Regions from separate parts of the Homo sapiens genome. Here all the other regions are linked to region 4. The links are contacts of gene promoters, found by promoter capture Hi-C in blood cells and fetal thymus (Javierre and others, 2016). All regions are on one chromosome and are shown on one strand. The core of a region is centred on a gene start or on the middle of the fragment in contact, and the rest is flanking DNA. Distances in the headings are between cores, read along the strand shown. Region 1 holds the start of TMEM208 (transmembrane protein 208). Region 2 holds the start of KCTD19 (potassium channel tetramerization domain containing 19). Region 3 holds the start of B3GNT9 (UDP-GlcNAc:betaGal beta-1,3-N-acetylglucosaminyltransferase 9). Region 4 holds the start of PDP2 (pyruvate dehydrogenase phosphatase catalytic subunit 2). Region 5 holds the start of ELMO3 (engulfment and cell motility 3). Region 6 holds the start of NOL3 (nucleolar protein 3).

Evidence for each region. The method cuts DNA at HindIII sites, captures the fragments that hold promoters and counts their contacts. A CHiCAGO score of 5 or more calls a contact.
Region 1: a contact is called between the fragment with the promoter of TMEM208 here and the fragment with the promoter of PDP2 in region 4, in 12 of 17 cell types (naive CD8 T cells, total CD4 T cells, activated CD4 T cells and 9 more). The highest score is 11.7, in naive CD8 T cells.
Region 2: a contact is called between the fragment with the promoter of KCTD19 here and the fragment with the promoter of PDP2 in region 4, in 3 of 17 cell types (M1 macrophages, M0 macrophages and total B cells). The highest score is 6.1, in M1 macrophages.
Region 3: a contact is called between the fragment with the promoter of B3GNT9 here and the fragment with the promoter of PDP2 in region 4, in 12 of 17 cell types (erythroblasts, M0 macrophages, endothelial precursors and 9 more). The highest score is 11.8, in erythroblasts.
Region 5: a contact is called between the fragment with the promoter of ELMO3 here and the fragment with the promoter of PDP2 in region 4, in 8 of 17 cell types (M0 macrophages, activated CD4 T cells, M1 macrophages and 5 more). The highest score is 8.2, in M0 macrophages.
Region 6: a contact is called between the fragment with the promoter of NOL3 here and the fragment with the promoter of PDP2 in region 4, in 3 of 17 cell types (megakaryocytes, endothelial precursors and M0 macrophages). The highest score is 6.0, in megakaryocytes.

Annotation. Positions count from the first base shown.
Region 1 is chr16:67,225,379-67,230,013 of GRCh38, reverse strand. TMEM208 (transmembrane protein 208) reads right to left here and starts at 2,884. Exons shown (of 6, transcript NM_014187.4): 1 at 2,790-2,884; 2 at 2,083-2,178; 3 at 1,600-1,659; 4 at 1,383-1,519; 5 at 1,133-1,217; 6 at 736-1,038. The coding sequence starts at 2,795. The coding sequence ends at 901. It overlaps FHOD1 (formin homology 2 domain containing 1), which reads left to right. Exons shown (of 22, transcript NM_013241.3): 21 at 24-221; 22 at 296-625. The coding sequence ends at 378. It also overlaps the pseudogene FBXL9P. RefSeq lists an enhancer at 2,732-3,081. The HindIII fragment of the contact is 11,037 bases long and covers 1-4,423 here.
Region 2 is chr16:67,325,198-67,329,951 of GRCh38, reverse strand. KCTD19 (potassium channel tetramerization domain containing 19) reads left to right here and starts at 3,211. Exons shown (of 16, transcript NM_001100915.3): 1 at 3,211-3,247. The coding sequence starts at 3,245. LRRC36 (leucine rich repeat containing 36) reads right to left here and starts at 3,137. Exons shown (of 14, transcript NM_018296.6): 1 at 3,020-3,137. The coding sequence starts at 3,089. RefSeq lists a silencer at 3,095-3,244. The HindIII fragment of the contact is 1,968 bases long and covers 2,239-4,206 here.
Region 3 is chr16:67,148,660-67,153,208 of GRCh38, reverse strand. It overlaps B3GNT9 (UDP-GlcNAc:betaGal beta-1,3-N-acetylglucosaminyltransferase 9), which reads left to right and starts at 2,211. Exons shown (of 2, transcript NM_033309.3): 1 at 2,211-2,344; 2 at 2,538-4,549. The coding sequence starts at 2,724. The coding sequence ends at 3,932. RefSeq lists silencers at 2,256-2,415, 2,426-2,855. The HindIII fragment of the contact is 3,664 bases long and covers 404-4,067 here.
Region 4 is chr16:66,878,591-66,883,127 of GRCh38, reverse strand. It overlaps PDP2 (pyruvate dehydrogenase phosphatase catalytic subunit 2), which reads right to left and starts at 2,613. Exons shown (of 2, transcript NM_020786.4): 1 at 2,488-2,613. RefSeq lists a silencer at 2,160-2,339 and enhancers at 1,799-2,571, 2,820-2,899. The HindIII fragment of the contact is 2,608 bases long and covers 1,582-4,189 here.
Region 5 is chr16:67,196,439-67,200,833 of GRCh38, reverse strand. It overlaps ELMO3 (engulfment and cell motility 3), which reads right to left and starts at 1,703. Exons shown (of 20, transcript NM_024712.5): 1 at 1,430-1,703; 2 at 1,241-1,281; 3 at 1,078-1,150; 4 at 833-883; 5 at 473-642; 6 at 284-383; 7 at 26-177. The coding sequence starts at 1,507. E2F4 (E2F transcription factor 4) reads right to left here. Exons shown (of 10, transcript NM_001950.4): 8 at 3,188-3,235; 9 at 2,923-2,967; 10 at 1,916-2,826. The coding sequence ends at 2,711. RefSeq lists a silencer at 2,308-2,367. The HindIII fragment of the contact is 7,654 bases long and covers 1-4,076 here.
Region 6 is chr16:67,168,930-67,173,119 of GRCh38, reverse strand. NOL3 (nucleolar protein 3) reads right to left here and starts at 2,582. Exons shown (of 4, transcript NM_001276309.3): 1 at 2,546-2,582. It overlaps HSF4 (heat shock transcription factor 4), which reads right to left. Exons shown (of 13, transcript NM_001374675.1): 10 at 4,184-4,190; 11 at 4,019-4,084; 12 at 3,772-3,841; 13 at 3,179-3,489. The coding sequence ends at 3,335. RefSeq lists silencers at 532-695, 2,336-2,625 and enhancers at 2,836-2,985, 3,476-3,525. The HindIII fragment of the contact is 13,408 bases long and covers 1-4,190 here.

The DNA.
Region 1 (4,635 bases), core at 1,635-4,134, 350 kb before region 4:
CTTTGCTATCTGGCCTTCCTCAGGCATGGTCCAGAGCAGCTCCCCAATCATGCCCACAGTGGGGCCCTCCACTGCATCCCCAGAAGAACCCCCAGGCTCCAGTTTACCCAGTGATACATCAGATGAGATCATGGACCTTCTGGTGCAGTCAGTGACCAAGAGCAGTCCTCGTGCCTTAGCTGCTAGGGAACGCAAGCGTTCCCGCGGCAACCGCAAGTCTTGTAAGTAACCCCCCACAATCCCACTGCCCACCTGAACCCCATCAACCCCCTCCAACCCTGCTCTGTCCCTGCAGTGAGAAGGACGTTGAAGAGTGGGCTCGGAGATGACCTGGTGCAGGCACTGGGACTAAGCAAGGGTCCTGGCCTGGAGGTGTGAAGGTGCTGTATCCCGGAAATCTATCTGGACCCTGGACTGCAGTGCAGGAGATGACAGAGTGAGGAGGGCCCAGAGCAGAATTCTGGCCCCAGAACTCTGTGCCCAGGAGCCATGCCTTGAGCAGTATTAGCCGTGTGTGTATGCATGTGAGTGTGTGTGTATGTGTGTGTGTGCATGCATATGCATGTGCATGTGTGTGAGCTCCTTGAACGCACGGAGCAAAATAAAATTTTCTTAGCTAATCCAACAGGTTTCTCTTCTTTCAGGGTCCCCACCAGGCTGGGTTTGTAGCAGGAGGGAAATCCCATAGGACCAGCTTTTCCTGCCTCATCCCTCATCACCCACACAGCCATCAGCCACATTCTAAGCCATTTATTCAACGACCCTATAGAGTATAAGTATACCCAATACCTCAGACTGCTTTTGGCCCCTGGACTAGACCCTCATTGCTCCAGGCATGAGGGGCTGTGCACCCTGACAGAGCCACCCAGGGCCAGTGGCCTGTGGCCACAATGTCAATGGCTATAACCGCTTCATCTGCCGCCGCTCCTGTCGGCGCTGCCGTTTCTCATTGTGCTCTGGTGCTGGGGTGCCACTGTCTGCAGTGAACCAGGGGCCCAGCACATTCACCCACAGGAGGTAAAGGGCCCGGCCTGGAGCCTACAAGAGAAACGGTAACTTGAAGCAAGATGCAGGGAATAAAAGATGGGGAGGGTTAGATGCCCCTTCTTGGGAGCGCCCCCAGCCCACATACCAGAAGCCAGAAGGACCAGACATAGAGAGAGAAGCAGCTGAGCACCTGCACGATGGCTGTCAGTAGGATCACATCCTTAAGGTGCCTGTGGATAGAAATAAAGCTGGAAAGACAGCATATGGGCCCTTCCACCCTTTTCAAGTTGCAACTCCCTTCCACCCTTTTCAAGTTACAAGTAGCTGTGCTTCTTGGGCTATCTGGGCCCCAGCCCTGGGGCCGCTCACCTGGGCTGGCGGTGGGGGACACTCACTCTGCCATGCCCTGCTCCATGTTGAGGTCCATGCCACCATCCATCAGGGCCCCATCCTCAGAGAACGCTGCTCGTGCCATCGAGCTCATAGAGTGGTAGCTGGCCCCATACACTGCCAGACTAAAGCCCAGGGCCAACTGCAGAGCAAGAATGAGGGTATCAAAGGCCAGCCACTGACCCTACGCACTCATCCACCTCCCAGGATGGAGATACTTACCCAGGCCCAAAATGAGGCAGATGAGTAAAAGAAGACCAACGTCACAAGGCAGTAAATGGCCTGCAAGCAATCACAGGATCAGGTTGGGGTCAGAAGTTACCTCCAAACCATGGGTCTCCCTCAACTCTGACCAAGAATTAGGCCAGGCTGTGGGAGGAGCAAGGTTGTTCTTACAGGGTTGAAGAAAGGGCCCTGCTCCCTGAATCCCAAATACCCACTCTCCTCTGACACCCAACTCAGCCCAGGAAAGAAGCCTTTGTGTACTTGGAGGTAGGAAGAGCTCTCAAATTCAGCTACGACTCACGCCTTCATTTTCTTTGTGTTTTACTAGTTAGCACTTTCTCTGTGCCCAGATCTCTCATTTCTTTTTGACTGGAGCTCTCTTCTAGAGCTTTTTCGGGTACCACTCCTCGTCACCAAGCAGGGCTGAGGACTAGGGAACTGACTATAAGTGGGCATAGAAGCAAGGAGGTAGGCACTTACATTGGCCCCCAGTATGATCCGCAGGTAGAACTTCAGAGTCTCTCTGTTCTCTTCAAATATCTGCTTCTTCCCTCTCGTGCCCACTTTGCCCTTGGGCTGCAGAGGAATGATGAGATGCCGTCAGGAGGCCACGGTCCTCCTCATTCTCCCCACCAGCCTGGTGAGCTATAGAGCTCCATCCGCAACTCAGCCAGGTCCCCGTAGTGCAGAAACCTAGCAAAATCCCTGGGATGTCCACCCATCCTCCAGTCCATTCTGCCTAGGGCTGACGCCATCTCTCCAGCACCCGCAGCTAGGATCAATCGCCTCTTGCTCGCCCTGGAACAATTCAATCCTAAGCTAATACCGCCTCTGGATCCCGTGGTAGTCTGGCTTTAGGCTAACGACTCTTCCAAGGGTACTCCTGAGCGGAGTTGAATGGTGCCTCTCTCAGGCCTCCGCTGGCGTAGTCCCGATCTGGGTTAACCCCCACCTCAGGTCACTTAGATCTCTGGCCTGCCCTGGTACTGATGCCCACCCCGCTCTGGCACTAGTCCTGGTATGGTCCTGCGCCGCCATCCCCCCAGCCCAGCTCTAGCACGGTCTGGCCAGGGATGGCGCCCCGCTCTGGCCCACCCCATATCCCTTAATGTTCTTTCTCAGTTTTCACTCTCACAGCCCCTGGAGAGCTTTGCTGGTGCGGACCCCGCCCTATCCATCCTCCTTACCGCCATGGTGCGAGGCAAATACCCAGCCCGGGAAACACGGGAGAGCGACCGAAACCGCAATCACTAAGCACCACATCGGCAGCTCATGCACTTCCGGCGCAGACCGAAGTCGTCAGCTTTTGCGACGGAAATAGGTCTCACTTCCTTCCCAAGCCCCGCCCCAAAGAGGCGAGACTACATTTCCCAGAAAGCCTTGCGCAGTGGGGGCGGAGGCGGCAGGGATGCGATGGCGGAGTCGCTGCCCCTGGAGGTGAGAGGAAGCCGCCCTCAGGCCTAGCTCTGGACAGGCCCCGCCCTCGCGGTCCTGAGCTTTGGGGAGGGGCTGTCAGATAGCTAGCCCGGCCCCTCCAGCCTGGCGGAAACGACCCGCCCTCCCGATCCCGGGACCTTCTAGCTCTGGGTAACGGTTCCTCCTTTGGGCCACTCTGTCCCTTTAGCTTGGGGGACCGTCCTCCCCTTCCCTATCGGCCCCAGAAGATAGCTGCCCTGTCATCTCCGCGAGAACAGGCCCTCTGCCCATCCCCTTCCCTTGAAGTGGCTGTCTCCTCCCCGCTCAGTTCTGGAAGATGTCCGCTCCATCTCATCGTCCCGAAGGGTAACTGATCTTATCCCCATTGGTCCCTTGGGATGATCTCTCCATTTCCTACAGAGACGGCCGCCCCTTCTCCCTGGCAGTGGGAAACAGACTGCTCCCTCCCCATCAACTGCAATGATCTCTGAGTTCCTTTAACAAGGATAGGCCTGTTCCCCATTCCTAGGCCCCTAGTGATGGCCGCCCTTACCTCTTTCACTCCGTGGGATGTTTGCTCCTTCCCCTTAGCCAGGGGCAAGACCACTCTGCCCCATCTGCCAGGGAGATAACAGGTTTTGTCTTCAGTGGCCTGTTGGAATGGCTTCTCCATCTCTTTTGTCCTGAGGGTTGGCAGCCCCCTCTCTCTGCCCATGGGAAACAGGCCACCCTTTCCCATCGGTCCTGGAATGATGCTCCTGTCCTTAGCAAAAATAGGCCTGTTCCCACCCCTATTGAGCTTGCAGTGCTATCCCTTTCCCCCTTAGCTTTAGGGGCTATCTATTTCCATCCCCATAGACCCCATGAGTGACCAATCATTATCTCCAGTAGCCCCCTTGAGATGGGACTCATGGGATGGTCACTCCATCCTCATCACTGCCTCCTCTTGTCCCTCTAGAAAGGCCACCCTCTTCTTAGGTCAATGAATTGTGTCCCTTCCCGACTCACCCCAAGGGATGACAGGTTTGTTCCCCTCTCCCTTTGCTCTTGGGCTGGCTGCTTAGCCCCAGAAGACAGGATGGCCACTGTCTTAACTCAGCTCAAACAGGCTTCCGTGCCTCCCTGGAGGGATTGGGACTTGGTCAGTCCCAGTCCCCATCAATACTGTCTTCCCTATGCCTCCCTTCCTGGCCCAGAAGTCTATTCTGCCAGTCATTGTCCTCTCAGTAATGACTGCTTTATTTCCCCGACCCCTTCCCTGAGCATACTCTTGGTGAAAATAGAGGTAGAGGACTGGACTGTCCAACCTTAATTTAATCCAGTAAGCACTGGCTGAGCACTGTGCCTGCGTGCTTGGCATCTGAGAAAGGAAGGAGAGATCACAATGGGTTGGTGAAGTTAAGCTTCAAGAAGGGGATCCCAGGGAAAAGGCCCGCATAGGCAAAAGGAAATAGACATGCTGTGTGCGTAGGGCAATGGGGAGACTGGACTGGGGAAGTTTGGGGACCAGCGAGTCCAATCAGGCACAGAGGCCTGGCAGTGCTGATCCAGGAGTGGAGACTGTCCTGAGAGTACTGTGAACCCTGAAGTTTTACAGCAGGGGTGAGCTGAAACTGA
Region 2 (4,754 bases), core at 1,962-4,461, 450 kb before region 4:
GACCATATACGGATTCTTATTTTATTTTATTTTTTAGATGGAGACTTGCTCTGCCACCCAAGCTGGAGTGCAGTGACGCGATCTCAGCTCACTACAACCTCCGTCTCCCGGGTTCAAGCGATTCTCCTGCCTCAGCCTCCCAAGTAGTTGGGATTACAGGTGTGAGCCACCATGTCCAGCTAATTTTTGTATTTTTAATAGAGATGGGGTTTCACCATGTTGGCCTGGCTGGTCTTGAACTCCTGGCCTCAAGTGATCCACCCACCTTGGCCTCCCAAAGTGCTGGGATTACAGGCATGAGCCAACGCACCCGGCCATGGATTCTAATTTTAAAAAATTATAGGACAACTGGGGAAATAAGAACACTAGTTAGATATTTCATGATATCAAGAAATCACTGTTCACTTTAGGAGGCTGAGTCACTTGAGGTCAGGAGTTCAAGACTAGCCTGGCTAGCATGGTGAAACCCCGTCTCTACTAAAAATACAAAAAAATTAGCCAGGCATGGTGGCACATGCCTGAAATCCCAGCTACTCAGGAAGCTGAGGCAGGAGAATTGCTTGAACCCTGGAGGCAGAGGTTGCAGTGAGCTGAGATCATGCCACTGCACTCCAGCCTGGGCAACAGAGCCAGACTCCATCTCAAAAACAAAACAAAACCAAAAAAAGAAATTACTGTTAAATTTTTTAGGTTGCATATGTGACTTTTTTTTAAAGTAATCTTAGCTTTTAAAAATACATACTGGCCAGGTGCTGTGGCTTGCACTTATAATCCCAACTCTTAGGGAGGCTGAGGTGGGTGGATCACTTGAGGTCAGGAGTTCAAGACCAGCTTGGCCAACATGGCAAAACCCTGTCACTACTGAAAATACAAAATTAGCCGGGCGTGGTGGCGGGTGCCTGTAGTCCCAGCTACTTGGGAGGCTGAGGCAGAAGAATCGCTTGAAATGCGGAGGTGGAGATTACAGTGAGCCGAGATCACGCCACTGCCCTAGAGCCTGGGTGACAGAGCAAAACTCTATCTGAAAAATAATAAAAACAATAAATAAATAAAATACTACTGAAATATTTATGGAGGAAATCACATACTTGGAATTTGCTTCAAAATAGTCAGTGTAGGGGGTTGGAGGTGGGTGGAGGATAGGTGAGGTATACGTGAAAGAAGCTTGGCCATGAATTGATGATAACTGTTGAGGTAGGCTAATAGAGTTCATTATTCTGTTATCTCTACTCTTGTATATATTTGAAAATTGCCATAATATAAAATTATAAAATAAGTGATAAATGCTTATATATGTAGAGAATATTTCTGGAAAACTATCCAAGATACTGGTAACAGTAATTGCCTTTAGGAAGGGGAACTAGGCCTATGAGACGGGGATGGGGGAGTAAAGACTTTCTTCTCACTGTACAATTTTTATTTTATTTATTTATTTTTTCGAGACGGAGTCTCACTCTGTCACCCAGGCTGGAGTGCAGTGGCGCGATCTCGGCTCACTGCAAGCTCCGCCTCCTGGGTTCACGCCATTCTCCTGCCTCAGCCTCCCGAGTAGCTGGGACTACAGGCGCCCGCCACCATGCTCCGCTAATTTTTTTTGTATTTTTAGTAGAGACGGGGTTTCACTGTGTTAGCCAGGATGGTCTCGATCTCCTGACTCGTGATCCGCCCGCCTCGGCCTCCCAGAGTGCTGGGATTACAGTCGTGAGCCACCGCGCCTGGCCCTCACTGTACAATTATTATATTACCCACAGAATAAATTAATTGAATTATTTTAACAGTCAAAATGAGTAAATATTACATATTTCCCCCCTCTACCAAATTAATCATTAGACTACCGACATGCTCTAGTATATCCTTCCTGTTCTGTTCTTGACTGCACATCATACGCTTCAGCTACCATCTATTTCTGCAGTCTCTTTTACAGCTAAAATTTTCAGCAAAAGTTCTTACTTTCACTGTCTCTTCCCCTCAAATATCATTTCCCTTTTTCATCCCACTCCAATCTGGTTTCCCTCCTCCCCACCCTCCCAAAACTCCCTCTGTCAAGGTCACCAGTAAGTTCCATGTTGCTAAATCTAACAGACACTCTGCATTTAAGTTGCTCAGCCTGTCAATAGCATTTGGCACAGTTGGCCATTGCTTGCTCGATACACTACCCCTTCTCAAATTCCAAGATACCACATTCTTCCTCTATACAACCTCTAAACACTGAAATATTCCAAGGTTGAGTCTTAAGCTTTCTTTCACTTCTCCATCGACATTCTCTCCTTAGCTGAGTTCATCCACTCCCGTAGCTTTAAATACCACCTATTGCTAATGTCTCCAAAATTTTCATCTCTAACCCTGACCTCTCCTCTGAGGTCCAGACCCATATATCCAACTGCCTACTAGGTACCTTACACTTGGATGTCTAATAGACATTTTATTATTTATTTATTTTATTTATTATTATTATTTTTGAGATGGAGTCTCGCTCTGTCGCCCAGGCTGCAGTGCAGTGGTGCGATCTCGGCTAACTGCAACCTCCGCCTCCCGGGTTCAAGCGATTCTCCTGCCTCAGCCTCCCGAGTAGCTGGGATTATAGACTTGAACCACCACGCCGGGCTAATTTTTGTATTTTAGTAGAGACGGGGTTTCACCATGTTGGCCACGCTCAGGTGATCCACCCGCCTCCGCCTCCCAAAGTGCTGGGATTACAGCGGTCAGCCACCGCCCCCCGCAGTTCTGTCACCTGCGGCAGGGTCCCCTGTTAACCTTGTTTCTCCTTCCCTACTTCACACTCCCCTCTTCTCTCTCAATTCCTCGGGCTCTGCCCCACACCCTCCCGTTACTTCAGTTCCTCCACCTCCACCTCCCTCTAACCTTCTGCCTCAAGTTATCCCCCCGCCCCCCAGCCTCAGGTACCGCTTCTCTGTGGTTCCCTCGCCTCTATCTCAGGTTCCCCGCCTTCCACTTCAGTTTTCTTTCCACAGCTTCTGACCCTACGTTCCCAGTCCACACCCTCCCGGCCAGACCCTACCCGGCTGCTCCAGCGTCAGCGCCCCCAGGCGGCGAATGCCTTCCTCGTCCAGCTCCCATTGCTCCGCCATCCCCGCCCGCCGCTCACCTGCCACCGCCCGCGAGACCACCCGGCGCACGCCAGGCCCCGCCCACTGCCCCGCCCCCCGCGCGCGCGCCGCCGCGACCCCGGGAACCGTTATTGGCCGGGTCACAAGCCCGCCCGCCCGCTGCTGGAGCCGCGACCATGGTACGGAGCCCGCTCTGGCGGGGGCGCCAAAAGCACCAAAGCGGCGAATGGGGGCCGCTGTGGCCAAGGATTGGGGCTAAGTGGTTCGAGACCTGGCTCTGGGGCATGGGAGAGAGCGAGGGGCCCCCAGCCGGGAAGGATTTGGGGGGCTGGCTCTGAGGAGTTAGAATAACGCTCTGTCTTGAGGGATGAAGTGTTCTGGCTCTGAGGATGTGGGGGACTCCGGTTCTGAGGGCTGGGCGTGTGCCCCTTTGACGGGGTGGTCTTCATATCTCAGCGCTGGGGGATGCTGACTTTGGGGCAAGGCGAGGGTGTGTGTGAAGGGGAGATCCAAATCTGAAGGATTGGAGCGTGGGGACAGAACTCTAAGGCATGATGGGGAGCTCCAGATCTGAAAGGTTGGGAATCCTGGCTCTGAGGAGTTGGGGTCCTGTCTTTAGAGCATGAGGAAGTTCTAGCTCTAGAAATTGACTTGGACGGGCTGGGCGCGGTGTCTCACGCCTGTAATCCCAGCACTTTGGGAGCCCGAGGTGGGCGGATCACCTGAGGTCAAGAGTTCAAGACCAGCCTGGCCAACATGGTGAAACCCCATCTCTACTAAAAATACAAAAATTAGCCGGGTGTGGTGGCACGGCCTGTAGTCCCAGCTACTCGGGAGGCTGAGGCAGGAGAATCGCTTGAACCCGGGAGGTGGAGGTTGCAGTGAACCGAGATTGCACCACTGCACTCCAGCCTGGGCGACCTGAGTGACAGAGCCAGACCTTGTCTCAAAAAAAAAAAAAAAAAAAAGGTAAGAAATTTACTTGGACGGAGCTTCTTCGGGGGAGAAGGATCAGCGTGGGAAAGAGAGAAGCTCTTTGTAATGGGGTGGGGATGACTGCTTTAGGGCTACCCCGTTTCCTGAAGTCAGTCCGGCAAGAAGCCTTTTGTCTTTCAAGCACCACAGGTTCCCCTAAGCTTGCCTGTGACTGAGGGCTGTCGCCAGGCTGCGATAGCTCTGCACTAACCAGCCCCTGAGTAGTCTTTGGGAAAGAACAGCCGCATCCCTAACCCCTACCCTCACTCCAGCAGGCACTTAAGAGCCCACCTGTGGATGGGACATGTATGTAAGAAGGAGCCAGGACCCTCTTGTCACACCCTATCCTTAACAAGAAAAGAGGGTGGGCTGGGCGTGGTGGCTCACGTCTGTAATCCCAGCACTTTGGGAGGCCGAAGCATGTGGATCACGAGGTCAGGAGATCGAGACCATCCTGGCTAACACAGTGAAACCCCATCTCTACTAAAAATACAAAAATAAAACAAAATAAAATAAAATAAAATAAAATAAAGCCGGGCGTGGTGGCGGGCGCCTGTAGTCCCAGCTACTTGAGGAGGCTGGAGGCTGAGGCAGGAGAATGGCGTAAACCCGGGAGGTGGAGCTTGCAGTGAGCCAAAATCGTGCCACTGCACTCCAGCCTGGGCTAGAGAGCGAGACTCCGTCTCAAAAAAAAAAAAAAAGAAAAAAAGA
Region 3 (4,549 bases), core at 962-3,461, 270 kb before region 4:
GGTGGGTGGGACTGCTTGCTGGGATGGGGCCCTGGGGGGAAATGAAATGCTTGCTCTGTTTGGGACAAGTTGAGCATGATGTTCCTGCAGTGCATCCGGGGAGAGAGTATGAGGGTAGTTGGGTCTGTAGTTCTGAGTTCAGGATGAGGGTTCAATCTAAAGATTGATGAATAGACAGGTGGGGAGTGGGTGGGGTGGCCCCAGGGGATGTCCTGAAGGACACCAACCAGAATGGGAACAGCCAAAGAGGAAGGAGGAAAACCAGGAGATTTGGAAACCAGGGGATTACCCACCCACTATAATGGAGCGGGTAGTCAAGACCGAGGAGTGTCTGTTGGACTCAGTTAAAAGGAGCTTACCAGTCAGGGGTCTTTCTGAGTCATGGTGGAGGCAGCCCGAAGCTTTATCACAGGAGGGAATGGAAGGTGAGGCCGCGGAGAAAGCTGGAGCAGAGGACTCCTGATTACTTTGTGACCAAAAAGAGTAAGGCTCAGGGTGGAGATTTGGCTTTTTTTTTTTTTTTTTTTTTTGGAGAGAGTCTCACTCTGTTGCCAGGTTGGAGTGCAGTGGCACGATCTCGGCTCATTGCAGCCTTCGTCTCCCGGGTTCAAGTGATTTTCCTGCCTCAGCCTCCCAAGTACCTGGGATTACAGGCACGTGCCACCATACCTGGCTAATTTTTGTATTTTTAATAGAGACAGGGTTTCTCCATGTTGGCCAGGCTGGTCTCAAACTCCTGGCCTCAAGTGATCCACCTGCCTTGGCCTCCCAAAGTGTTGGGATTACAGGAGTAAGCCACCACGACTGGCCTTTTTTTTTTTTTGAGACAGTCTCGCTCTGTTGCCCAGGATGGAGTGCAGTGGTGTGTTCTTGGCTCACTGCAACCTCCACCTTCCAGGTTCAAGCAATTCTCCTGCCTCAGCCCTCTAAGTAGCTGGGATTACAGGTGCCCACCACCATGTCTAGCTAATTTTTGTATTTTTAGTAGAGATGGGGGTTTCACCACGTTGGCCAGGCTGGTCTTGACTTCCTGACCTCAAGTGATCCACTCACCTCAGCCTCCCAAAGTGTTGAGGTTACAGGCATAAGCCACCACACCCAGCCAGAGAGGTGGCTTTTTAAGATTGAACATTGGTGGGAAGAAGCCGTCAGGAGCAGATATAGCCCTTGGACAGAGGATGGGGCTGGGTTCTTAAGAGACCAGTAGAGGCTGTCTATTCCAGGCTCCACCACATGGGCTGGGACCAAGAAAGAGAGAGCTGGCAGCTGAGCTGCGCAAGGACTTAGCTCTCCATTGCAGAGCACCTCTGTCCACCTGCATCCCAGAGCAATCCTTTAGCCAAGGCCTCCGCCAGGAGTCTTCCCAAGCTGTCCCCATCCTTGCCAGCCCTGTCTGACCTGCAGCTGCACAGGCCTGATCATTTCTACCTGCAGTAGGCTATGCTGGGGACCAGGGGACTCAGAACTGCACCTGGCTTGGGCTCAGGTCCATTAGCCCCCGGGGAGACAGGCTGAAGTGCTTGCCTGTGAAATTAAAGCAGACTGGGTTGGCCCCCTGTTCTGTATCCCAGTGGATGAATGAGCGGGGCAAGGACAGATAAAATAATCCTGGCCTGAATTTCAGAAGACCTGGGGGCAGAGCTTTCTGGCCTTTGGATCCTGGGCAAGTCACTTAACTCCCCGAAGAGCCCCCCAGTGTCCCCATCTGGGCATGAATGAGAGCTGCTGGCAGAGTTGCCCTGAGGATTGGGTGGGCTGCCTTGTTTGTCCCGTGCGTGTGTTTACTGGGGGTGGGGAGCATGGCAGAACCAGGAGTAAGAAGACAGCCATGTGTCTCGGGGGCAGCGTATGCACCCTGCCTGATGGAATCAGGGCTGCTGAGGAGAGGCCCGCCCGGGATGGTGGCCAGGTTCATGCGCATTTGGAACCGGCCTGCTCAGGGGCTCCTAGCAGCCCAGGCTCCGCCCCACTCCAGAGACGCGGGAGTGGGGAGTGGATAGTTGGGGGAGCTAACCAGGGGAGTTGATGCTTCTTCCCAATCCCCAGAAAGGCGAATTTGGGGTGTGAGCACCCAGACCAGCCCTTCCCAGAGGGACTGAGAGTGAGGAGGCTCCCTCTCAGGGATTAGTCCCCACTCTGAGGCCGGAGTGCTCCTGGCGCCGGGGCGGAGCTGAGCTCCAGAAGTCTGGGCGCGCACAGCTGGAGGGTCACGTGGCACGGCACCGGTCCCCCTTCCTGCCAACGCTGCATTTGGCTCGGGCCCGGTCCATGGCGGCCCCTCGGACCCTGCGCTGAGCCCCGGAGGCCAGGGCGTCCGGGGCTGCGCCACTTCCGAGGGCCGAGCGTGAGTGTCGGGACCCCAGGGCCCGACATTGAGGGGATGGCAGGGTGGAAGGGATTCGGCCTCAGCGCGAGGGAGGCGGGCGGGGGAGGGGCCGAGGCTCCCAGTCTCCCTGCCCGGCCCTGGGTCGCAGTCCTGGGCCGGAGCTGAGGCCGCGGGGGAGTTGGCTACATGGGTGAACTTCTTGTCCCTTCAGGCTGCCGGTCCCGGCGGTGCGACACGGCCGGGAGGAGGAGAACAACGCAAGGGGCTCAACCGTCGGTCGCTGGAGCCCCCCCCGGGGCGTGGCCTCCCGCCCCCTCAGCTGGGGAGGGCGGGGCTCGCTGCCCCCTGCTGCCGACTGCGACCCTTACAGGGGAGGGAGGGCGCAGGCCGCGCGGAGATGAGGAGGAGGCTGCGCCTACGCAGGGACGCATTGCTCACGCTGCTCCTTGGCGCCTCCCTGGGCCTCTTACTCTATGCGCAGCGCGACGGCGCGGCCCCGACGGCGAGCGCGCCGCGAGGGCGAGGGAGGGCGGCACCGAGGCCCACCCCCGGACCCCGCGCGTTCCAGTTACCCGACGCGGGTGCAGCCCCGCCGGCCTACGAAGGGGACACACCGGCGCCGCCCACGCCTACGGGACCCTTTGACTTCGCCCGCTATTTGCGCGCCAAGGACCAGCGGCGGTTTCCACTGCTCATTAACCAGCCGCACAAGTGCCGCGGCGACGGCGCACCCGGTGGCCGCCCGGACCTGCTTATTGCTGTCAAGTCGGTGGCAGAGGACTTCGAGCGGCGCCAAGCCGTGCGCCAGACGTGGGGCGCGGAGGGTCGCGTGCAGGGGGCGCTGGTGCGCCGCGTGTTCTTGCTGGGCGTGCCCAGGGGCGCAGGCTCGGGCGGGGCCGACGAAGTTGGGGAGGGCGCGCGAACCCACTGGCGCGCCCTGCTGCGGGCCGAGAGCCTTGCGTATGCGGACATCCTGCTCTGGGCCTTCGACGACACCTTTTTTAACCTAACGCTCAAGGAGATCCACTTTCTAGCCTGGGCCTCAGCTTTCTGCCCCGACGTGCGCTTCGTTTTTAAGGGCGACGCAGATGTGTTCGTGAACGTGGGAAATCTCCTGGAGTTCCTGGCGCCGCGGGACCCGGCGCAAGACCTGCTTGCTGGTGACGTAATTGTGCATGCGCGGCCCATCCGCACGCGGGCTAGCAAGTACTACATCCCCGAGGCCGTGTACGGCCTGCCCGCCTATCCGGCCTACGCGGGCGGCGGTGGCTTTGTGCTTTCCGGGGCCACGCTGCACCGCCTGGCTGGCGCCTGTGCGCAGGTCGAGCTCTTCCCCATCGACGACGTCTTTCTGGGCATGTGTCTGCAGCGCCTGCGGCTCACGCCCGAGCCTCACCCTGCCTTCCGCACCTTTGGCATCCCCCAGCCTTCAGCCGCGCCGCATTTGAGCACCTTCGACCCCTGCTTTTACCGTGAGCTGGTTGTAGTGCACGGGCTCTCGGCCGCTGACATCTGGCTTATGTGGCGCCTGCTGCACGGGCCGCATGGGCCAGCCTGTGCGCATCCACAGCCTGTCGCTGCAGGCCCCTTCCAATGGGACTCCTAGCTCCCCACTACAGCCCCAAGCTCCTAACTCAGACCCAGAATGGAGCCGGTTTCCCAGATTATTGCCGTGTATGTGGTTCTTCCCTGATCACCAGGTGCCTGTCTCCACAGGATCCCAGGGGATGGGGGTTAAGCTTGGCTCCTGGCGGTCCACCCTGCTGGAACCAGTTGAAACCCGTGTAATGGTGACCCTTTGAGCGAGCCAAGGCTGGGTGGTAGATGACCATCTCTTGTCCAACAGGTCCCAGAGCAGTGGATATGTCTGGTCCTCCTAGTAGCACAGAGGTGTGTTCTGGTGTGGTGGCAGGGACTTAGGGAATCCTACCACTCTGCTGGATTTGGAACCCCCTAGGCTGACGCGGACGTATGCAGAGGCTCTCAAGGCCAGGCCCCACAGGGAGGTGGAGGGGCTCCGGCCGCCACAGCCTGAATTCATGAACCTGGCAGGCACTTTGCCATAGCTCATCTGAAAACAGATATTATGCTTCCCACAACCTCTCCTGGGCCCAGGTGTGGCTGAGCACCAGGGATGGAGCCACACATAAGGGACAAATGAGTGCACGGTCCTACCTAGTCTTTCCTCACCTCCTGAACTCACACAACAATGCCAGTCTCCCA
Region 4 (4,537 bases), core at 1,364-3,863:
CTGCTTCGGGCATAGTGGCTCATACCTGTAACCACTCCAAAGGCTGAGGCGGGAGGATCACTTGAGCCTAGGAGTTCCAAGACCAGCCTGGGCAACATAAGGAGACCTGGTTTCTACAAAAAATTTTTTTACAAATTAGTTGGGCATGGTGGCGCACACCTATAGCCCCATTCACTTGTAAGGCTGAGGTGAGAGGATTGCTTAAGCCCTGGAGGTCAAGACTGCAATGAGCTGTGCTCCTGCCACTGCACTCCAGCCTGGGCAACAGAGCAAGACCCTGTCTCAAAAACTAAATTTTATATACATGTATATTTCCCCACTAGTCTATAAACTCCATGACTCAAGCAACTATGGCTGCCTTACTCACCAACAGCTTTCCAGTGCCTGGCCCTGTACCCGGCACACACTAAGTCCTCAAATACTGGCTAAATATGACATTTTCAGAGGCCCAATAGCACACTAGCTGTGATACTATCTTGTGTAGCATCAGACACACTGCTGATGAGGTAACACTCCAGTTATCTATTGGTGGAATGGGAATATTAGTCTTAGAAGGTTTTGTGAGAATTTAATAAAATATGACGCTTCTGCTAAAAAAAAAAAAGTAGCTATTATTTTCATCATTAGGTATATACCCCTCTAAGTCATTCTGGGTATTTTTTGTTTGGTTTTTTTTTGTTTTGTTTTGTTTTTGAGATGGAGCCTGGCTCTGTCCCCAGGCTAGAGTGCAATGGTAAGATCGTGGCTCACTGCAGCCTTGCCCTTCTGGCCTCAAGGGATCCTCCTGCCTCAGCCTCCTACATAGCTGGGACTACAGGCATGTGCCGCCAGGCCCAGCTAATAGACAGGGTCTCCCCGTGTTTTCCAGGCTGGTCTCAAACTCCTAGGCTCAAGCGATCTTCCGCCCTTGGCCTCCCAAAGTGCTGAGATTACAGGTGGGAGCTACTGCGCACAGTCATTCTGTACGTATTTTTGTAGAGTTGTAACCCCAACTTTGAATCTGGCTTTCCTGATAAGAGTATTTTTTCACATCTGATGGCTACATTTTGACATAAATAATCACAACTTACTTAACTATTCTTTACGGCTGGAAATTTAGAGGTTGTTTCTACTACTTGCTATTTATTAATATAAAATACCAAACTGGACTGGGCACAGTGGCTCATGCCTATAATCTCAGCATTTTGGGAGGCCAAGGCAAGAGGATCACTTGAGGCTAGGGAGTTTAAGACCACCCTGGGTGATACAGCAAGTGCCCCATCTCTACAAAAATTTTTAGATTAGCTGGGCATGGTGGTAAGTGCCTGTAGTCCCAGCTACTCAAGAGGCTGAGGTGGGAGGATCGCTTGAGCCCAAGATTTCAAGACTGCAGTGAGCTATGATCACACCACTGCACTCCAGCCTGGGCGACAGAGCCAGATCTGTCTCTTTAAAAACAACAACAACAACAAAACCCCACCAAACTGTACTGCTTTATGCAGTAACCTTTTCTCTACTTAGGTTTTATCCTAGTTATTTCCCAAACAAGGAGTCAGTAGGTCCAAGGGTGTAGACTCATTGCCAAACTGATTTCCAAAAGCTTCACATCTGCCTCCTCAAGGGGGTGACGAGTTTCCTAGTCCCTTCACTAGCCCTGGTGGTACTTTTCCTTGGAATATAATAAATTAAATTAAATTAAATTAAATTAAATTAAATTAAAAAAAAAAAAACAGAACAAAACCTTGACCCATTATAATGAGCTTTTCATGTATGAATCCTGCCCTCGGGATCTCGAGATCATTTGTCGGGACCTCAAGAGTTCCCAGGACTGAGGACCGTCCCTTCACTCCCCCACCCCCTGCCAGCCCACCCCGCAGAAGTCGGTGCGGGGGCGGTCTGTCCGGGAGCAGAGGGCGCCTGACGCTCCGGCCCTGCAGTCAAGGCAGGCAGCGGTGCAGGGTGATACACCGCAGCCAGGACGCAAACCCTCTTGCATCCTTAAAGAAAACAGACAGGTCCCAAGTTCAAATCTCTGACTTCAGCCTCATCGCTAAGTGCATGGACTCCGGAGCCCACCAAAACCGATCTCCCTAGAACCCCGGCACGGCCGTACCCCAGCTGGGTGCCCCCGGGCGACCCGCTTGGTGCCTCTGAGCCCCGGCTTGCCAGCCTGTAAAACAGGGGCGTGCAGTCGGGACACAGAGCTCCAAGGGGTGCTCGATAGGCCAGAGCAGCTAGTGGGGTGCCCCGGTAGGCAGCCAAGGGTCCTCGGCGAGCCCGCGGGCCCACGTGGCGCGCGCACGTGAGTGGGGTGACCGTGGTCGTAGGCCCAGCTGGTCCCTCTCCGCCGCGGACCCGCCCCCTCACCTCAGCTCTCCCTCCGCCCAGTCACCTGAGCCGGTGCCGCAGGCCGGGAGGGTCAGGCGCCGGCGAGGCCTGGCGGGGAAAGAGGTGTCCACATCCCCCGCTCGTTACCTTCCCTACCTCGGACCCTCGCCCGCTTCTCACCAGCTGGCGAGGCCACAGCCGCCCGCTCCGTCCGGTCAGTTCAGCGCCTGCGCACAGTGCCACAACTGCGGCCACCAGGTCCTCACCTCACCCAGGCGGTCCCTAGTCAGGACCCAGCTCCAGAAGGAAGCGCCCTCCCGCCAGCCCTGGTTGGCTCAATTGCGGAGGCGGGCCCTTGATGGACAGAGGTATTGCCCAATGGCTAAAGAGGATGAGAGGCGGGCAGAAAGGCGGGACCCGGGAGGGGGCAACACCGCCCCTTACCCCCTGCCTGGGTGCTGAAAGTGTTCGAGCGCGGGGCCACAGGACCAGGCAGTCACGTGCCTGAGATCGCCAGCTACGTGGCCGCTACACTCTGCATACCCCGAACCCAGCGGCCTCCCCAATTCCTCACCGTTGTTAGAACACCTCACTGCTTCCTCTCCACTTCGGTGTCGACCACTCCAGAACCCTCTCTTGAGCGCCACACCCTGATGTCCAGCCACCTGGACACCTGCCTCTGGAGGCCCCCAGGCGCCTCAAACATAACTTACCCCAAACTCAGCTTTCTGCCAAACTTGCTTTTTCTCTTCTCTCCTAACCCAGTAATGGCCCCACCATCTGCCCAGAGACCCAAGCCAAAACCCTGGGAGGCATCTTGACTCCTTCCTCTCCCTCACCCTCTCTTTCCAGTTATCTAATGCTGTAAATCCTATCTCCTAAATCTCTCTCCACTCATCCATCCGGCGACGCAGCCACCCTATTCCAAGCCTCTCACTTGATTTTACGGTTTTCCCTCCTCCACCTTTGACTTGGTCCTAACCACAGAGCAGAGCAGCCAGAATGACGCCCCTCCCACCTTTTCTCGTGGTTGGTGGGTAGAGACAAGGTCTTTCTATGTTGCCCAGGCTGGTCTCAAACTGCCGGGCTCAAGCAATCCTCCCACCTCAGCCTCCCCAAAGTGCTGGGATTACAGACGTGAGCCATCACGCCTGGCAGAATGACACTTCTAAAACTCAAATTCCAAGGCCGAGTGCGGTGGCTCCTGCCTGTAATCCCAGCACTTTGGGAGGCCGAGGCGGGGGGATCTCCTGAGGTCAGGAGTTTGAGACCAGCCTGGCCAACATCACGAAACCGTCTCTACTAAAAATACAAAAATTAGCTGGGAGTGGTGGTGCGCGCCTGTAGTCCCAGCTACCTGGGAGGCTGAGGCATGAGAATCATTTGAACCAGGGAGGTGGAAGTTGCACTGAGGTGAGATCATGCCACTGCACGCCAGCCTGGGAGACAGAGTGAGAGTCTGTCTCAAAAAAAACAAAAACAGAAACAAAAACAAACCAAAAAAACCCTCAAATTCCTGCCCTAAAGTCTTTTTTTTTTTTTTTTTTTTTTTTTTTTGAGACGGAGTCTCGCTCTGTCGCCCAGGCTGGAGTGCAGTGGCGGGATCTCGGCTCACTGCAAGCTCCGCCTCCCGGGTTCACGCCATTCCCCTGCCTCAGCCTCCCAAGTAGCTGGGACTACAGGCGCCCGCCACTACGCCCGGCTAATTTTTTGTATTTTTAGTAGAGACGGGGTTTCACCGTTTTAGCCGGGATGGTCTCGATCTCCTGACCTCGTGATCCGCCCGCCTCCGCCTCCCAAAGTGCTGGGATTACAGGCGTGAGCCACCGCGCCCGGCCTCCTGCCCTAAAGTCTTTAGTGGTTTCCCACAAACCATTAAGCTTTGAACTGACCATTATATTGGCCTGCTACTGACAATTAACTCAGCACGGCTGGCGGCTGGTAGGTTGAGAGAGACAGCGAACCCCGACACCAGATAATCCCTCCGTCCCTTCTGGTCCTAACATTGTGGCATTCCAGTGATGACCTGCTTCCTTATAAATTATTTTCACAGAACTCTTGTAACTATGGTAAGTCAGATGGAGTCCTTCCCTGGAGACAGAGAAAAATGGGAGACAACCAGAAAAAGCCACTTGGAGCCCTGAGAGTGTGGTTTTCCAGAAGGAAGACACCCTGGCTTACCTGGGCAGCCTGGCCAGCCTCCTGGACCCAAGGACGTGGTCACAATAAA
Region 5 (4,395 bases), core at 454-2,953, 320 kb before region 4:
CTGGACCCCAGCCCCAGAGGCTTACACCTGTAGGTGCACCAGCAGCCTATCCAGGGGCACCTCGCTCTTGACCAGCTGGCCCAGGGCTGGGCTGCTCAAGGTCACACTCTCCAGCAGCCCAAGGGCCAGGGGAGGCACGGAGGCATCCATGAGGTTCATGTTCACGTAGCACACCACCTGTAAGGGGCGGGGGTGTCACCACCTCACCCCCATGGAAGACCGGGTCTACCACTGCCCCACTGCTCCACTGCCCCCACCCGCTGCCCTAGGAAAGCCCACCCACCTTCCTCACAAAGGGGATGCTCAGAGTCTCCCAGGACACCACGCCGTGCTCCATGAGCTCTGAGAAGGCCCTCAGGCTGAGGGCCAGCACCTCTCCTAGGCTGGAGGGGGGACATCTGGGGCTGAGCAGGACCACCCCAGGACCAGAAAGACCCACCATCTCCCCCAGCCCACACATCCCTGTGCTCACTCGTCCCCATCTTCAATGATGGTGCCTAGTATCTGGAGCCCATTACGGCTGATGACCTCCCTGGCAAAGATCATGTCCGAGGCCAGCGGAACAAGGCGCCTCAGGGCTTCCCGGCGCCCTTCAGGACTGTTACTCTGCAGCCCACCCAAGAGCTGCTCAGCCTCAAGGTCCTGGCAGGAACGGAGCAGGAGCAGAGGTGAAGAGGCTGGGCATGGTAAGGGTGGGACCTGGAAGTGTGCGGCCCCGGGCGTCAACTAGGTGGCGCAAGGCAGGGCTGGGGCGGGGGCCTCCGGGGCGGGGGGCCTCTGGACCTGGAGCAAAGGGGCAGGGATGGGGAAGGCGGGACGGGAGGGGCATTACTGGGGCCGTGCTGAGGCACAGGATGCTGCCATTCTTGATCTCCGCGCGGTTCTGGAGAAGACAGCAGAAAAGGCAGCGAGGTCAGGGAGGGCTCCGAGGACTGATCAACTGGGGTGTCGGTGAGGGCGGCTGGGGGTGAATAACAGATCGCGCTCCGGTAGTGGGATGAAGAGCCAGAGTTATCGGGGCCAGGTGGGTTAGAGGGGTCGGAAGGCCGAGCTTGGGGCTGGGGAGAGGGGACTCACATTCTCGGTGATGTATCTCCGGTGCCCATCCGCAAACTGCAGGGCGTAACGCTCAGAGTGCGTCAGGCTCCACCTGAGGGGCACGAGGCTCAGCGAGGCCGGCAGGGGGCGCCGCCCCTCCTGCCCTCCCGCCCTCCGCAGGCCCTGGCCCGGCAGCACTCACGCGTCGCACACCTCCTTCAGCACAGCGGCCAGGGGCTTCGCCTGCAAGTGGAGTGGTCATTCTCGCGGCCTGGGCAGGGAGGGATGGGGAGGAGCCTGGGGGGAGGGGTGGGGCGGGCTGCCCCGAGGGCCAGGGGGCTACCGGGAGGTGGGGCAGTGGGGCAGATGGAGGCGGGACCAGCCGGGTGACCTGGTCCAGCTGGATGAGCTGCGGGATGGCGTCACGCATCTTGATGGCAATCTTCACCACGTTCCGCGGAGGCGCCATGGTCCAGCTGGGACGTGGGCGCCTGCACTTTCCGGAGACCGTGCACCTGCGGCCAAGGGTGCACCTGGCCTGGGGCCCCTGGGGACGAGGAGGTCCTCCCTTTCCGAGACCTGACCTCGGTGTCCCGCACTCGCGGCCCAGACTGCTGCTCCTGGCCATGCAACGCGGCCTTCCCAAGGGAGCCGAGGTTAGTTCCGGGTTGGAGTCTGGGGGTAGGAAGGTAGGACGGCTCCGCCTGCCCCGCCCCGCCGAGGCGGCCCCGCCCCACACCAAGGTGCGGCAGGTGGGGGCGGGGAGGGCAGGCTGCCGGAGGCCGCCCCACCCCTAGTTCCAGCAAGGTGACCCACCCAATCACACTGCCAGTCCAGCACAGTCCCAAGGAGGGTCCCCAAAGAACCACATCAGAGCTAGCCTTAGGCATGGTTTTTATTCACTTGAACACTGTACAAATATTACAATTTCCTTTTGCTGCAAAAAGTATAAAAATAATCTTTATATAGGAATCCATTCGTTACTGTAAATCTTTCTAAATCTCTGCAAATGGCTCTAAATGAGGGTAAATGAAAAAGCCGAAATGAAGAGAGGGTTATGGGGCAGCAGGAGGTGGGGCCAATCATCAGGGCTGGACCACCCAGACTCCTCCCCAGAGACCTCTGTTCCTTCTTGGTAGCCGCCCCCACCACCTGCAGGTTCTAGGGCTAAAGGCCCAGCAGAAGTGGGCACGTGAGAGGGCCAGGAGGAGCTGGAGGGTCAGGGGGTGGGGGATAGCGAAGGAAGCTAGAAGTGGTGCTGGCATGTGCCCAGTTCCACCCCACCCTTCCCTCCTAGGGGAAGGAGCTGGCAGAAGCAAGACACTGAGGCTGGCAGGAACAAGACACTGCCCCCTATGGGGGGTAATGGCAGCTCCTCGGTTCTGTGCCACTGGGTGGCAGCCGAGCCTGGGCTGGCGAAGGCCGCAGAAAGGGAGAAGCAAACACTTTGGCTCCACGGTGATGGGGGCTGAGTCCTGTTCCCCTGCTCTGCGAGCACAGAAGTGCCAGCACAGGAGCGGGAGCTGTGGCCAGAACTGTGCGGTGAGGGGAGGCCGGAGAAGCCAGGCGTCTGTGGCTCTCAAGCTCTGTAGGGGTCGGGTGGGAGAGGTCCCCAGGCAACCCCCAGGTCAGACAGTCTGGGTCCCAGCCACACAGGGCATGTCCCTGTCAGTCAGAGGTTGAGAACAGGCACATCAAAGAGGTCACAGACACCTTCACTCTCGTCCAGGTTGTAGATATAATCGTGGTCTCCCGGGGGTGGAGAAAGACGAAGCAGAGGGGCAAACACTGCAGAGAGCACTAGTCTCAGGCCCTGGGCCAGGGCTCCCCTAGCAGCAGCCCAACCCCTGCCCACACCCACTCCCACCTTCCAGGGCCACCCACCTTCTGAGGACATCAACTCCTCCAGCAGCTCCGAGCTCATGCACTCTGGGAATGGAGGGAGCTCAGTTACTAACATTCCAGCTCCCACCTCTCCACCCACCAAAGCCCAGGAAAGGGAACCCCACCTGCCCATCAGGAACTTCACCCTTTGCCCCAGTTACCATAAGCGCCACAACAAGGTCCTCAAAAGGGCAAGAAAACAGCCATAGGACCCAATGAGCTGTGTCCCTTACCCCTAGCCTCAGGGAGGAATGCAGCAGCCTACCTCGTGTGGGATCAAAGATTTCTGACAGCTCTTTGGGGAGTTCCAAAACTGAAAAACAAGAAAGCCATGCTCAGGGCACAGAGGTCCAGCCTGGCCCCACTACAGCCCCCTGGCTTCCTCGGATCCTATACCACCCACCCTGAGGCTCCACACAGCTAAGGAGATGTAGGTCCTGCCTAGGCCAAGCTGGCACTGTCTGTTGGCCTCACTTGCTAAACCTGAATTCCTCAGTGCTGAGCCCAGGGTACCAAAGGCCCCCTGCAAGCGATTGGTACAGCTTTTCTAACTCGGAAAGGCCACAGAAGCCTCTTTCTGGGCTCAGCATGCACCCCCTGTCTGACAGAAGGTACCCCATCTGTCCCACCCTTGCTGAGCACCTGCTCTGTGCAAGACTGAGACCAGACCCTGGGTCAGGTCACCAGGCAGAGGTGGTGGCGCTACAGGGTGATGACTCCACTACAAACCTCTGGCCAGGAGGACACAGGGGAAGCAGAAGAAAATGCAACCAGAGAGGACTATGAGGGATTTCACATGCCAGGCTCAGGAGTTCAGATCTTATCTGGTGGCCCTCAAGGAGCCATTAAAGGTACTTTTGCAAACAGAGAAATGCCACATTTTTCTGTCAGGCCTGCATTTCAGAAAGATTAGTCTGTCAGTCAGGGTAAAGAGAAAGATGCTGAAGAATCCAGGACAGAGGTGGCCAGGGGTCATCCTGAGTGCTGAGGATACCAGAGGATAGGAGGGGACATCTGGGACAGACCTCAGTTAGCTGGCATGGGGTGGGCAGCAGAAGGAGGAGGGATAAGGAACTAGAACTAGAGTGAGAGCCAAGGGTCAGGCCTGGATAACTAGGGCTGACGGCTGGGTGCGCAGAGGTGGAAAGCAAGCTTCGGGAGGAAACTAAGTTCAGTTGAGGACATGCAGGAATAAAGTGTCCATTGGATGTACACAGGACGGCAGGTGGACACCGAAGTGTGCAGATTGGGAAAAGATCTAGGCCAGGCGGAGGCTGGGGATTCGTTCACCCAGAGCTGCAGCCCTCTCCAGGAGTGGAATGGGACAGAGCCCTCAAAAACAGCAATGTTTAAGGACACGCCAGGGAAGAGTTCAAGAAGCCAGTGAGATAGGAGAGCCAAAAGCTGGCATCATGATGCCAAAGGAGGAAAGAATATTGACACAGACCAAGAGAGCACCAGCAAAACACGCTG
Region 6 (4,190 bases), core at 1,333-3,832, 290 kb before region 4:
AGAGACTTTTTTTTTTTTTTTTTTGAGATGGAGTCTCGCTGTTGCCCAAGCTGGAGTGCAGTGGCGCAATCTTGGCTCACTGCAACCTCCGCCTCCCAGGCTCAAGTGATTCTCGTGCCCAGCCTTTTTTTTTTTTTTTTTTTTTAGAGGTGGGGTCTTGCTATATATATTTTTTGTATTTATTTATTTTAGTGGAGACGGGGTTTCACTATGTTGGCCAGGCTGGTCTTGAACTCCTGACCTCGTGATCCACCTGCCTTGGCCTCCCAAAGTGCTGGGATTACAGGCGTGAGCCACCGCGCCTGTCCTGGTCTTGCTATATTGATCAGGCTGGTCTCGAACTGCTGGCCTCAAGCAATCCTCCCATCTCAGCCTTCCAAAGTGCTGGGATTACCAGCACTTTGTGAACCACCATGTGAACCACCATGCCTGGCTCTTGAGAGACTATCTCTACCAACAGCGGCTATTAGGGAGAGTCAATCTGCTTTATCCATTTTTTTTTTTTTTTTTTGACAGAGTCTCACTCTGTTGCCCAGGCTGGAGTGCAGTGGCACATTCTCTCATCACTGCAACCTCTGCCTCCTGAGTTCAAGCGATTCTTCTGCCTCAGCCTCCCGAGTAGCTGAGATTACAGGTGCCCGCACCACGCTCAGCTAATTTTTTGTGTTTTTAGTTGAGACGGGGTTTCACTATGTTGGCTAGGCTGGTCTCGAACTCCTGACCTCGTGATCCACCCACCTTGGCCTCCCAAAGTGTTGGGATTACAGGCATGAGCCACCGCACCCAGCTGCTTTGTCCATTTATTGTCAACCAAGGATTATGGCCCATTCCTGTGAGTGGCCTGACCCAGCCAGCAAGACCCCCGGCATTAGGAGGCAAAGACATCAGGCCTTGAACCATGCCCTCAGCCCACCCCCACCCTGATAATAACTTCTTCTCCTCCCCGCCTTGGCTTTGTTCACACGGCATCCTCCCATCTCTTCTTCCCTTTGCTGTCCCTCCTCTGCCTCCTTCTCTGGCTCTAGGAGGCTCGGCCTTCTCTGGGAGAGAGGATTTAGTCCTAGCCGCCATCCTGCCTCCCAGGTCTTTCTCAGTACCCTCTGGTGTCACACTATACCTCCCCCGTCACTTCACACCCTGGCTTCCTCCCATTGAAGCCCTTCCCCACCAGGCCGAGACCAGGACTACCCCCTGCCCCTCCATCTCCCTTTATGTCCCGTATGTGATGAATCTTGCTTCTCCACTTCTCAGTGAGTCTCCATCAGCTCCTGCCTTGCCACCCCACCATCGTCACCTCATGTCCTGTAACAGTCCCTCTGAGCCCCTCTCACTCCCATTCTGCCAGGCCCGATAGCACAGTGACTTTGACAACCCTCTGGGCTAGGATTGCTGTTCCCATTTTACAGATGAGGAGACAGGCTCAGAGATTCAGTGGTAAAACTGGAATCTTACTTGCTCCAGCCTGAACTATGAGGAACTGAACTATATTTTCCTGTCTAGCAGAATTCCATCCTAAATACCTATCTACCTCCCCCCCACACCCCACTGCCCATCAGAGACAACCCAAAATATCTGGTCTGGCTACTCTAGCCTCCTCCCACCACCCTGGACAGCCAGGCCCTTCCCAGCTTCCCTCCACCAGCCAGGGATCGGAGAACTCACTATGCCTCTGGCACCTCGGAGCCTTTGCTGATGCTGATCGCTAAGACTGGAATCCTTTTCTCCTCCCTCCGCTCCGTGGACCTATCCATCGTCCAGGACTCAAATGTTCCCTTGTCTACACCAATGCCTAAGTGTCCCAAGGGCTGGTGGTTCCTTCTTCTGTGTACCGTGAACAACACATGCCCTCACTAGTGCATTAACTGACATCATTGCACTGTGTACACGCAGACTCTCCGCTTTCTTCAACTGAGTTTTCCAGAGTGTCCCTCCAATCGGTGGGCAAAGGAAGGGAGAGGGGGACAGCACCTACTCGGGACAGACACAGGGAGGGTGCAGATTGGATTGGCCCCTCCTTCTCTCCAACCTAAGTTGTTTTCATGTTAGCCGCCTCCTCCTATGACCCCAAGTCCTGCCCTTTATCCTGTCTGGGGGTAGAGACTCCAGCTGGTCTGGGCCCTCCCTTTGAGGCTCACACAGCTCTCAATACCGAAGTTATTTAGCGGCCAGTCCTTCGAGGGTGACAGGTCCGATTCTTCCCAGAGAGCCAGGTGGCGGGGCACGGAGCTGGGTCCCAGCCCCCAACCCCACCTCGCTGCGCGGGCTCTTTGGCCAGGAAGCCAGGGTCTTGGGACAGTGAAGAGCCTTTGCGCATGTGCGACTGCACGGATTTTCCCCCCCCGCCCCTTACCTCCCTCCACCCAGTCCCAGAGCTTGAGAGTCCTGCGGCAGGGCGGGGCCCACAGTCCTACCCACCCCGCCCCCCCGACCCCCGAGCGCCGCAGCGGGTGGTGGGGCGCTGATTCTGCCCAATCTCGGTTTCCCTTCCCTCCCACAGCCGGGAGTGGGGCTCCCGGTCTGGCCCGTTTTGGGCGTCCCCACTCACGGGTCAAGCCTCGGCGGGGCAGGAGATGACGGTGCAGAAAGGGCCGGGCAGGGTGGGGGTGGGTGCAGCAGCTGCGGCGGGGGCGGGGCGGCCAGGGCTGCTGGGAATAGGGAGGGTGAGGGTTCTTCCCCGGGCACTAGGAGCCACACCGCGGAGGCCGCGCGCTGGCTGGGGACGTGCATGTAGTCAGCTTTCCCTCCCCACCCGGGGCGCACCAGGAGATGAGGCCAGGAGGGGGCAGTTCGGCCCGCGGCCCCACACGTCCAGCGCCCACTCAGGGCCTGCCAATTTCCAGGTGCTTTCCATCTATCTTGTCATCGACCCCTCTTCTCTGCCTGTCACAGAGGAAGTTCAGAGAAGGATACCAACTCACCAGGATCACAGAACGCATGCATTGCAGAGCTGAGCGCGACCCAGAAGCCCCCGCTTCCCAGAGATTGCAGCGGCCCCGCGCCAGCCCTGGACCCGGGCCTAAGCAAGGGAGCTAGGCACCGGATCCCCAAGCACCTCCACCCTCCTGGGGTTCCTCTATTAAAAACCTAGTATCTGGACGCTTCTACAAATGCAAAATCACCCCCCACCCATAACTCCTGTGCTCCCTGGTCGATAGAGAAAAGAGACCAGAAACAGAAAAAAAAAAAACGGAGTTTATGTGCAGGGATAGTCGGGGTAGTGGAGAGAGGCCATTTAGTAGTGGGGGCTTCGCTCACCCCCGATAGGGGGCGCCAGGAAGCCAAGAAGGATGTGCAGCGGCGGACTGGTTCCAAGCCCCTTCAGAGGCGCGGGGTCTTAGGGGGAGGGACTGGCTTCCGGGCCCAAGTAGGAGGCAGTCCGGCTCTCAGGAGTGCTATAAATGGTTAAAGCCCCAGGCAGGCCCAGGGCTGGGCCTCCCAAGGCCGCCTGGACATCCAGCAGGAGTGGGGCCCCGAGCGTGGGGTCCTTCCCTAGGAGAAGTGGGACTGCGCTCACCAGGGGAAATGTTCCCCCTCCTTTCTTCAGGGAAGGAGAGCCCTGCCCGCCTGCCTTCTGCTCAGTTAGGATAAAACATCCATTCTTAACCTCCCCACTCTCGCCCAATGGTGAGGGCATGGGTGGCTCAAGGAACGCTCTGCAGTGCAGCCTGAACTCAGGATTTCCCTGCAAATTGCAGATTGCCCCCTCACTCAATCAAGGTAGCTCAGCCCAATCACGGCGTCCTCCCAGGTAGGAGTCATCACAACCATTACCTGGGCTTGGAGAATTTAACCCCTTGACCGCCAGCTCAGGCTCACCCCGCTCTGGAACCAAGGGCTGCATCTGCGTGAGAACCGCAGGGAGCAGCTGGGGAGGGGACCTAGCAGCTGAGGGGGACAGCTGGGAAATCACTGTGACAATTCTTCTAGAGACACGGCTTTGGCTCACAGAGAACAGCTATGGACCAGAGGGCTTGACTCAGCCACCCCTGGCCTCTGCCCTCCCCGACCCACTTCTTACCAAGGACAGCTCCATGTCCAAGTCCATCAGGGTCCATTCTCGCCCTTGGAGACTGGGGCCCAGCACCTGAGGAGAGCTCTGGGTCAGTGGTGCCCTCCCCAGGCTCCACAGAGAGCTAGACCCCACCAGGTCTCATGCCCCTGTTTCAGCAGAAGGGGTACTCACATCTAGA